2 separate regions of the Homo sapiens genome follow, and region 1 is linked to region 2. Evidence: promoter capture Hi-C in human tissues and cell types (Jung and others, 2019). All regions are on one chromosome and are shown on one strand. The core of a region is centred on a gene start or on the middle of the fragment in contact, and the rest is flanking DNA. Distances in the headings are between cores, read along the strand shown. Region 1 holds the start of LRRC3 (leucine rich repeat containing 3). Region 2 overlaps TSPEAR (thrombospondin type laminin G domain and EAR repeats).

Region 1 (4,333 bases), core at 1,143-3,642, 47 kb before region 2:
TCTCAAAAACAAAAACAAAAACAAAAACAAACAAACAAAAAAACAAGCAAAAGAAAGAATAAAGAGTGGAAGTCAATGAAAAAAAAGTGCATCAACGAAACCAAAAAGCTATTTCTTTGAGAAGATCAATACAATTGATAAACTGCTATCTGATTGTTCAGTTAAAAAAAAAGCCACAATTGCCAGTATCAGAAATGAGAAAGATGACATCACCTCATACTTCACAGATGTTGAAAGGATAAAGGAATATTATGAACAACTTTATGCTAATAAATTCAACAACTTATATGCGATGGGCAATTTCTTGAGCGATACAAACTACATACATTCAGTCAAGAATAAAATAAACTCAGCAGTTGTATATCCATTAAATAATTCAACCACATATAAAAATGATAATACATCATGACCACGTGGGCTTTATCCCAAGAACACAAGATTGATTTAACACTTTAAAATCAATCATTATACTCTATCATATTAATAGATCATCACGCAAAAAGATTCTCAATAGATGCAGAAAAAACAAAATCCAACTTTCATTCCTGATTAAAAAGACTCTCAGCAAACAAGAGAAAGGATAGTCTTTTCAACAGTCTGGAAAAAACTGATTATCCACATACACAAAAAATAAACATTGAATCATATCTCATACTATAAACCCAAATAAACTTAAAATAGGTAATAGACCCAAATGCAAACCTTTAAAACTCTAAAACCCTTGTGACTTTGGGTGAGGCAAAGATTTCTTATATATGACACCAAAAGCAGGATCCATAAAAGAAAAACATAAATTGGATTTCCTCAAAATTAAAAAATTCTGCTCTTTGAAAAACTGTTAAGAGAATGAACACACAATCCAAAGGCTTGGAGAAAGCATTTACAGATCACATATCTGATAAAGGACTTGTATCCAGAATATGCAACAAACTCCCAAACTCAATAATAAGAAAATAAACAACCCAATTAAAAGTGAGTAAAAGATTTGAACTCAACGCTTACTACAGGAGATGGAGAATAAACAGATGAAATGATGCTCAACATCATTGGCCAACAGGGAAACGCAAATTAAAACCACAGTTCCATCTATCACCACACACCTATTAGAGTATTTGAAATTAAAAAGACAAACCATACCAAGTGCTGGGGAGGATGTGGAATGTAAAACCATACAATCGCTTTGGCAGTTTCTTAAAAAGTTTCACATATGGCTACCGTGGCATCCAGCCACTCCACTCCTAGACATCTATTCAAGAGAAAGAAAAGCATTCATCCAAAGACTTGTGCACAATGTTCGGATCAGCTTTATCTGTAAGAGCCAACACCAGAAACAACCCAAATGCCCACCAGCAGGTGAATGGACACAAACTGTGGTACATTCATACACTGGAGTACCATGCAGCTGTAAAAGAAATACGCATTGACAAACCAAATGACGCAGGCAAATCTCAAAAATAATTGTGCTGAGTGAAAGAAGCTACACAAAAAGTACATATTATATGATTCCATTTGTGCAAATCATAGGAAATGCAAAGTAATCAGTAGTGACAGAATGCAGATCAGTGCTTGCCTGGGGATGAGGGAGGGCAGGGAGAGATGACCAAGAGGGAACCCGGGGTGTTCACTATGCTGATTGTGGTGATGGTTTCACAGGAGTATCCGAGTGTTAAAACGTACCAAATTGAAATATGTGGCTTACCGTCTGTCAATTACACCACAATAAGGCTACTTTTTGAAAACCATGAGGATGGCTCAGGTCCGGCTCAAATGCCCCCACCCTGCGTTCCTTCCTTGGGATGTCAGACGCTGGAGCTGGAGCAGAAGGGGACCTAGATGGGCGGAGATCTAGCCCTACTCACCCACTGGCCACGGGGTAGGCGAGGGACGCTCAGCAGGGGCTTCCCGCAGACCCAGGGTCTTCAAGCCCCAGAAGTCCTGATGCCAGAGGGAAGAGGGGATTTGCCCAGAGTGAGGGGCAGGGGCTGGACCCACAGCCCCTCCCGGCGCGCAGACCCCGCCCCCACCCATAACCACGCCCTCAGCCCCCACCACCTCGTCCTCAGCCCCACAACCACGCCCCCAGCATGCCACAATTACTCCCACAACCCGCCCACAGCCCCTGCGACCTGGGTCTTAGTACCAGCTCCATCTAAAGCCGCACCACCGGCCCCTCCCATGCCCCTCCCATGCCCCTCCCCCATCTCTTCCAGGCCCCGCCCTGCCGCAGAACCCGCCCTCAAGCCCCGCCCCCGCCTAACCACAAATCCCGTTCCGGTCTCCTTACATGCCCCGCCCCTTCCCCGCCCCCGCGGGGAATCGACACAGCCTGTCTCCGCCTTTCGCCCCGCCCCCTCCAGGCCCCGCCCCACCCCGCCCCTCGCCCGCGCAGGCCGGAGTCGCGGCCTCCCCAGCTAGTGGTCGCGGGCGCGGTCGCAGGGGCAGCGGGGTGGCCGCCGCGCCAGGCGTGGAGCTGGGTCTGGCGGGCTCCGAGAGGCCCGGGAGCGGCGCGCAGAGCAGCCTCCGGCCGCCGCCGCGCAGGTAAAGCCCCCGCCCAGCCCTGGGAGCGTGGATTCCCACCCACCCCATGACCATCCCCCCGCCGCGAGTGCTGGGGTCTCGGGGGTCCCAGGTTCCGGGGGTCCTAGGGCCGGAGGGTCTAAAGGCTGGAGGTCCTGGGGGTCCGAGCCTCTCCCGGCCGGCTCCGCGCGCGGCCCCGCCGTCCACGCCCAGCGCGGGCCGCGCGCACAGGGCTTGGCTTCTCTGTTTTCTCGGTTTCCTTCTTCAGGCAGTTGAAAGAAAAGGCGCGGTTCTGTGCCCGGTGCGAGCCGCGGCTCCTTTAGGGCTGGCAGGGAAGGGCTTGCTGGGTTATGACAGTTTTTAGGGGTTGTCGGAGTCAGCCAGGCGTTGGCTGCTGGAGTAGCCCCTGGCGCGCGAGCGCCCGCTGGTGCCCGGCCACGTGCCCAGCTTGACCCGCGCTCCAGGTTCGGGAGAAGCTGCAGCCGTCACCGTCCTCCTGGCGTCCACCCTGAGGAGGGAGGGGCTGGGTGGTCCAAGCCGCCGCCACTCCGCCGCCCGGCCTTTGGTCCCCAGCGGTGCTGTAGGTGGCCAGGGGTGGCCGCAGTGACCACCCACTGGGCCATGCGGAGCCCCCTGGCAGTGCCAGCTCCCTGCACTTGTGGGACGCTCCTCCCGGGCGCATTGGGAGTCTCCAGAAGTAAGTTACAGGCAGAGCTGTTTAAGGAGGCGTGCTCCCCACCCCAGACCCTTCAGTGGGCCCTCAACACCCTCCCCACCAGTGGACGCGTTTCCCAGGTGACCGCAGCCGGCAGTGCTGACCACCCTCCCTCCCTCTCCGCTCCCTCCTGCGTCTTCCCTTTCAGAGCTGCCAGAGTGGACTGCACTGCTTCTCCCAGCGGGGCAGGATGGCGGTTTCATGTCTGGTTGGATAAGGCCTTGCCTGCGGAAACCAGCTCCATCCCCAGGCCCTAGCAGAGGCTCGCGTGTCCCCGTCCCCAGGTCAGGTCAGGATGGGCACCGTGCGCCCACCTCGCCCCTCGCTCCTGCTGGTCTCCACCCGGGAGTCTTGTCTCTTCCTCCTCTTCTGCCTGCACCTGGGCGCCGCCTGCCCACAGCCCTGCCGGTGCCCTGACCACGCAGGGGCTGTGGCTGTCTTCTGCAGCTTGCGGGGCCTTCAGGAGGTCCCCGAGGACATCCCGGCCAACACCGTGCTCCTGAAGCTCGATGCCAACAAGATCTCCCACCTCCCGGACGGGGCCTTCCAGCACCTGCACCGGCTCAGGGAGCTGGATCTGTCTCACAACGCCATCGAGGCCATCGGCTCCGCCACCTTCGCGGGCCTGGCCGGGGGCCTGCGGCTGCTGGACCTGTCTTACAACCGCATCCAGAGGATCCCCAAGGACGCCCTGGGCAAACTCAGCGCCAAGATACGCCTGTCCCACAACCCCCTGCACTGCGAGTGCGCCCTGCAGGAGGCCCTGTGGGAGCTGAAGCTGGACCCCGACTCTGTGGACGAGATCGCCTGCCACACCTCAGTGCAGGAGGAGTTTGTGGGGAAGCCTCTGGTTCAGGCTCTGGATGCGGGTGCCAGCCTCTGCAGCGTCCCCCACAGGACCACAGACGTGGCCATGCTGGTCACCATGTTCGGCTGGTTCGCCATGGTGATCGCCTACGTCGTGTACTATGTGCGCCACAACCAGGAGGATGCCCGGAGGCACCTGGAGTACCTGAAGTCTCTGCCCAGCGCCCCCGCCTCCAAGGACCCCATCGGCCCGGGGCCCTAGCGCCTGTTCCGGCAGACCCCCGCCGGTGGCTG
Region 2 (4,137 bases), core at 1,569-4,068:
AGGGGCTGTGCCCACCCGCTGCCTAGAGAGGAGCACCGGTGCTTTTGTAAAGAGCAGTATAAATACACTTCCGTTCAGATAAAACACAATAAATAGGTGGCGGCAATGGCGGGACGGCACCACACCTGCTCAGGCGGCCGGACGCACACTGCAGGAGTGGCTGGCGAGAGGCCAGCCGCAGGGACATGAACCGAGGTCCTGTTGTTTGAGGTAAAAATGTATAGAAACGGTTCCTTGACAGCGAAATCCCCGCTTGACACTCAGATGGGCGAGCACTGGCAGGGGCTCTGGGCCTCTGCCTGCAAGACCAGACCGTCACTGGGGCTGTGGCTCAGAAGGACTCAGAGGTGGATGGATGTCCCTGCCCGAACCAGGGCCGCAGATGGCCCCACCTGCACCCTGCCTGATGCCCAGGCCCGGGATGCCCTAGGCTGGGCCCACCTGGACGTCCAGGGTCAGTTGGGGGAGGTGCTGGGGTCCCGCCCCACCTGGCCACCCCAGTTGCTGCCGGGCAGCCGCGGCCTCAGCGTGTCCTCAGCCGCAGGACCCTGGAGAGGGGCTCCTTGGCGCTGGAGTAGATGAGGTAGGCACCAGCCGTGGTGCTGAAGGCCTCCCAGTCCCTGCAGCCGACGGTGGGGAGGCTGTGCACCGCCACGAAGCCCTCGTAGCCCTGCCACCTGCGGAACAGACAGCGGCAGCCGGGTCAGCCTGGGCTCTGCGGGGCAGCTCCTCTCCCCCGGCTCCCACCCGCGCTGTCAGGGACCCAGCAGCTCTGGGTCACATCTGAGCCTCTTCCATCCCCCCGACTGGCACAGCGTGGGGAGATCGATTCTGGGCCATGAGGGCCTTCTCATCTTGCAAAGCAGGAGGCTGAGGCCCAGAAGAGGAAAGATTCCAGATCTCACCAAGATCCCAGCGCTACCTCCTATCCACCCAAGATCCTAACCCCGGGGACCCCCAAACGTGCAGTTCCGAGGGTCGGCCTCAATCGTGAGGTGCGTGACTTTCCCCAGGGCCCCCCTCAAACACACGCAGGCCACCACGCAGGCTGGAACCCCTCCGTCCTCAGATACAGGAGCCCAGCTCTCTGCCCGCTGCTCTGCGGCCCCACGTCAGGGGCTGCCCCAGGCCCTCATTCTTGCTCTGGGCGGCTGCTGGCCGCCAGGGTTTGCCTTCAAAAGGACTCATTTATCCCAGGAGCTTCCATTTCCGAGGCGTGGAGTCCCCAAGGCAGGGCGCCGACATCAAAGGGCACGAGTTGTTTACATTTAATATTAAATAATAAAGTATGAAAATAAATTCTTCCAGACTGCTTTCTGGAAAAACCGTGGTGGCTTCTGCTCTCACGGGAAAGGGCAGGGTGGGGTCCCCCTGGGATCCCCCAACCCACTCCACTGCCCATCTTTAACACACTTCCAAACAAATGGGGGAGAACCTGGCAGGGTTTTGCTTTGAGGACAAATCCCTTATAATGTTTATTCACACTGTTCATCTTTTCTTCTAAAAATTCATATTTATATCTTTTGTCCATTTTTCCAAATTTAAAGACACATTTTTTATTAGTTTGTAAGGGTTGGTTTTCTGTCGTGTGTGTGGTAAAGAGTTTGTCTTTTGCTTTTGAATAGGATGTCTGTTTCCATAGAAAGCTTTTAACACAGGTGGTCGACCCAGTGCCTTTCCTTCTGGGCTTGTCTTCTTCATAGAACCCTGAGGTTATACAACTGCCTTCAGCTTTTCTTCTTTTTCACATTTGGACTTTTAATCCATATAACATTTATTTTTGTGTACAATGTGAAGTGGGGGTAAGCTTTGTTTTCTTCCAGATTACATGAAGCTAATCTCCCGAATCATATGGAGTTATCAAGTAAAACCCATCCTTTTCTCATTGCCTTCAAATATAGCATTTATGGCCGGGCGGGGTGGCTTACGCCTATAATCTCAGCACTTTGGGAGGCTGAGGCGGGCAGATCACTTGAGGTCAGGAGTTCGAGAACAGCCTGGCCAACATAGTGAAACCCCATCTCTATTAAAAATACAAAAATTAGCCAGGCATGGGCTAGGCGCAGTGGCTCATGCCTGTAATCCCAGCACTTTGGGAGGCCGAGGCGGGCAGATCACAAGGTCAGGAGATCGAGACCATCCTGGCTAACACAGTGAAACCCCATCTCTACTAAAAAATACAAAACAATTAGCCAGGTGTGGTGGCAGGTGCCTGTAGTCCCAGCTACTCAGGAGGCTGAAGCAAGAGAATGGCGTGAACCCAGGAGGCGGAGCTTGCAGTGTGCCGAGACTGGGCCACTGCACTCCAGCTTGGGCGACAAAGCGAGACTCCATCTCCAAAAAGAAAAAATAAAATTAGCCAGGCATGGTTGGCCCATGCCTGTGGTCCCAGCGACTAGGGAGGCTGAGGTGGGAGGATTGCTTGAGCCTGGGAATTTCAGCCTGCAATGAGCTGAGGTTATGCCACTGCACTTCAGCCTGGGCTACAGAGTGAGACCCTGTCCCCCCCAAAAAATAAATAAGAAGGAGATATTATTAAAAAGGTACCCAGGCCCAGATGGCTTTATAACTGAATTTAACCCAGCTGTCAGAAATGAGAGAAAAAATCCTATTCTTCAGACTATCCCAGTCCACAGGTGCAGTTAGAAAGCCCTGCAGTGTGTATTTACTGTTAGGCTTCATTTTAAACTGGATAAAGTTAAGTCCCCAAAAGAAAACCACCGAGCAATCTAATTTCCTATTATAGATGCTAAAAGCTTAAAGACAGGCAATTGGAAGCCAGTGGCTTATTCAATAATTCTGCATCATCACCAAGTGGCATCGGGTCTAATAACGCGAGGAGATGTCTCACTATAAATCATGACATCAACAGTAAACATAGTGGACCGCACCACGCACTCACAGATGCCAAAGGAGACCTCAGCCCTGGCCCGGATGGCCCACAGCCCATCAAACGGCCATGCTCAGATGTGCTCGTTAAATTAGAGCAAGGTGGGACAGCTGCCACTTCTGCCGCCATCCAAGATTGTTCTGGAATCTTTAGCTAGGGAAGCAAGCTACATAATCAATTAGAACACTAGAAATCAAGGGGAAATGTTCTTTATTCTCAGAGGTAATTACATTCCTAAGTCCCCTGAGAATCTTTTTAAGAAAAGCTATTAGAACTGATTGGTTAGGGGGCGAGAAAATGATTGTCATGATGAGCAGCTGCAAATGAAAGTTAAAAAGCCAACCCCATTCGTTAAACGTACGATACTTGGAAAACTCCTGGAAATAAATGAGAACACCACAGTGTCTATGAGAGAAAAATTAAATATCAACAACTCCCATGTTAGGATGTCCACACGCCGCATCCCTGACAGAATCCAAAGGCAGAAGCACCAGCACTCGTGGGTTGTGGCTACACCCGGGGCAGGGCCCCAGCTCAGATCCCACACGGGTGCAGCCAGCGCCGGGCCATCCACTGGGCCCAGCCAATCTCGGAAATGACACCTGACTTGGGACTCGCTGTGAGCCGGTGGCACCTGCGAGAGAAGGTGAGCCCCCGGGGGGAAGCAAGGCTCTGGGAGGAGGCCGGCCTCGGTGAGCCCTTGGGGGGAAGCAAGGCTCTGGGAGGAGGCCGGCCTCGGTGAGCCCTCGGGGAAGTAAGGCGCTGGGAGGAAGCTGGCCTCAGTGAGCCCTCGGGGAAGCAAGGCTCTGGGAGGAAGCTGGCCTCGGTGAGCCCACAGTGGGGAAGCAAGGTGCTGGGAGGAAGCCGGCCTCGGTGAGCCCTCGGGGGGAAGCAAGGCTCTGGGAGGAAGCTGGCCTCGGTGAGCCCTCAGGGGGAAGCAAGACTCTGGGAGGAGGCCGGCCTCGGTGAGTCCTCGGGGGGAAGCAAGGCTCTGGGAGGAGGCCGGCCTCGGTGAGCCCTTGGGTGGAAGCCGGCCTTGGTGAGCCCACAGGGGGGAAGCAAGGCGCTGGGAGGAGGCCGGCCTTGGTGAGCCCACGGGGGGAAGCAGTGTGCTGGGAGGAAGCTGGCCTCGGTGAGCCCTCGGGGGGAAGCAAGGCTCTGGGAGGAGGCCGGCCTTGGTGAGCCCTCGGGGGGAAGCAAGGCTCTGGGAGGAAGCCGGCCTCGGTGAGCCCTCGGCGGGAAGCAAG

Evidence for each region. The method cuts DNA at HindIII sites, captures the fragments that hold promoters and counts their contacts. A contact is called where the count stands out against the background at its distance.
Region 1: a contact is called between the fragment with the promoter of LRRC3 here and a fragment that was not itself captured in region 2, in 1 of the 25 tissues and cell types used here (lymphoblastoid cells).

Annotation. Positions count from the first base shown.
Region 1 is chr21:44,453,118-44,457,450 of GRCh38, forward strand. LRRC3 (leucine rich repeat containing 3) reads left to right here and starts at 2,393. Exons shown (of 2, transcript NM_030891.6): 1 at 2,393-2,538; 2 at 3,381-4,333. The coding sequence starts at 3,528. The coding sequence ends at 4,301. LRRC3-DT (LRRC3 divergent transcript) reads right to left here and starts at 2,167. Exons shown (of 4, transcript NR_047476.1): 1 at 2,127-2,167; 2 at 1,860-1,935. RefSeq lists an enhancer at 1,390-1,890 and silencers at 2,054-2,233, 2,322-2,751. The HindIII fragment of the contact is 13,764 bases long and covers 424-4,333 here.
Region 2 is chr21:44,499,260-44,503,396 of GRCh38, forward strand. It overlaps TSPEAR (thrombospondin type laminin G domain and EAR repeats), which reads right to left. Exons shown (of 12, transcript NM_144991.3): 12 at 1-677. The coding sequence ends at 524. Among named protein-coding and RNA genes, the nearest start is that of TSPEAR-AS1, 4.7 kb to the right of the region's middle. RefSeq lists an enhancer at 3,903-4,137. The HindIII fragment of the contact is 6,330 bases long and covers 1-4,137 here.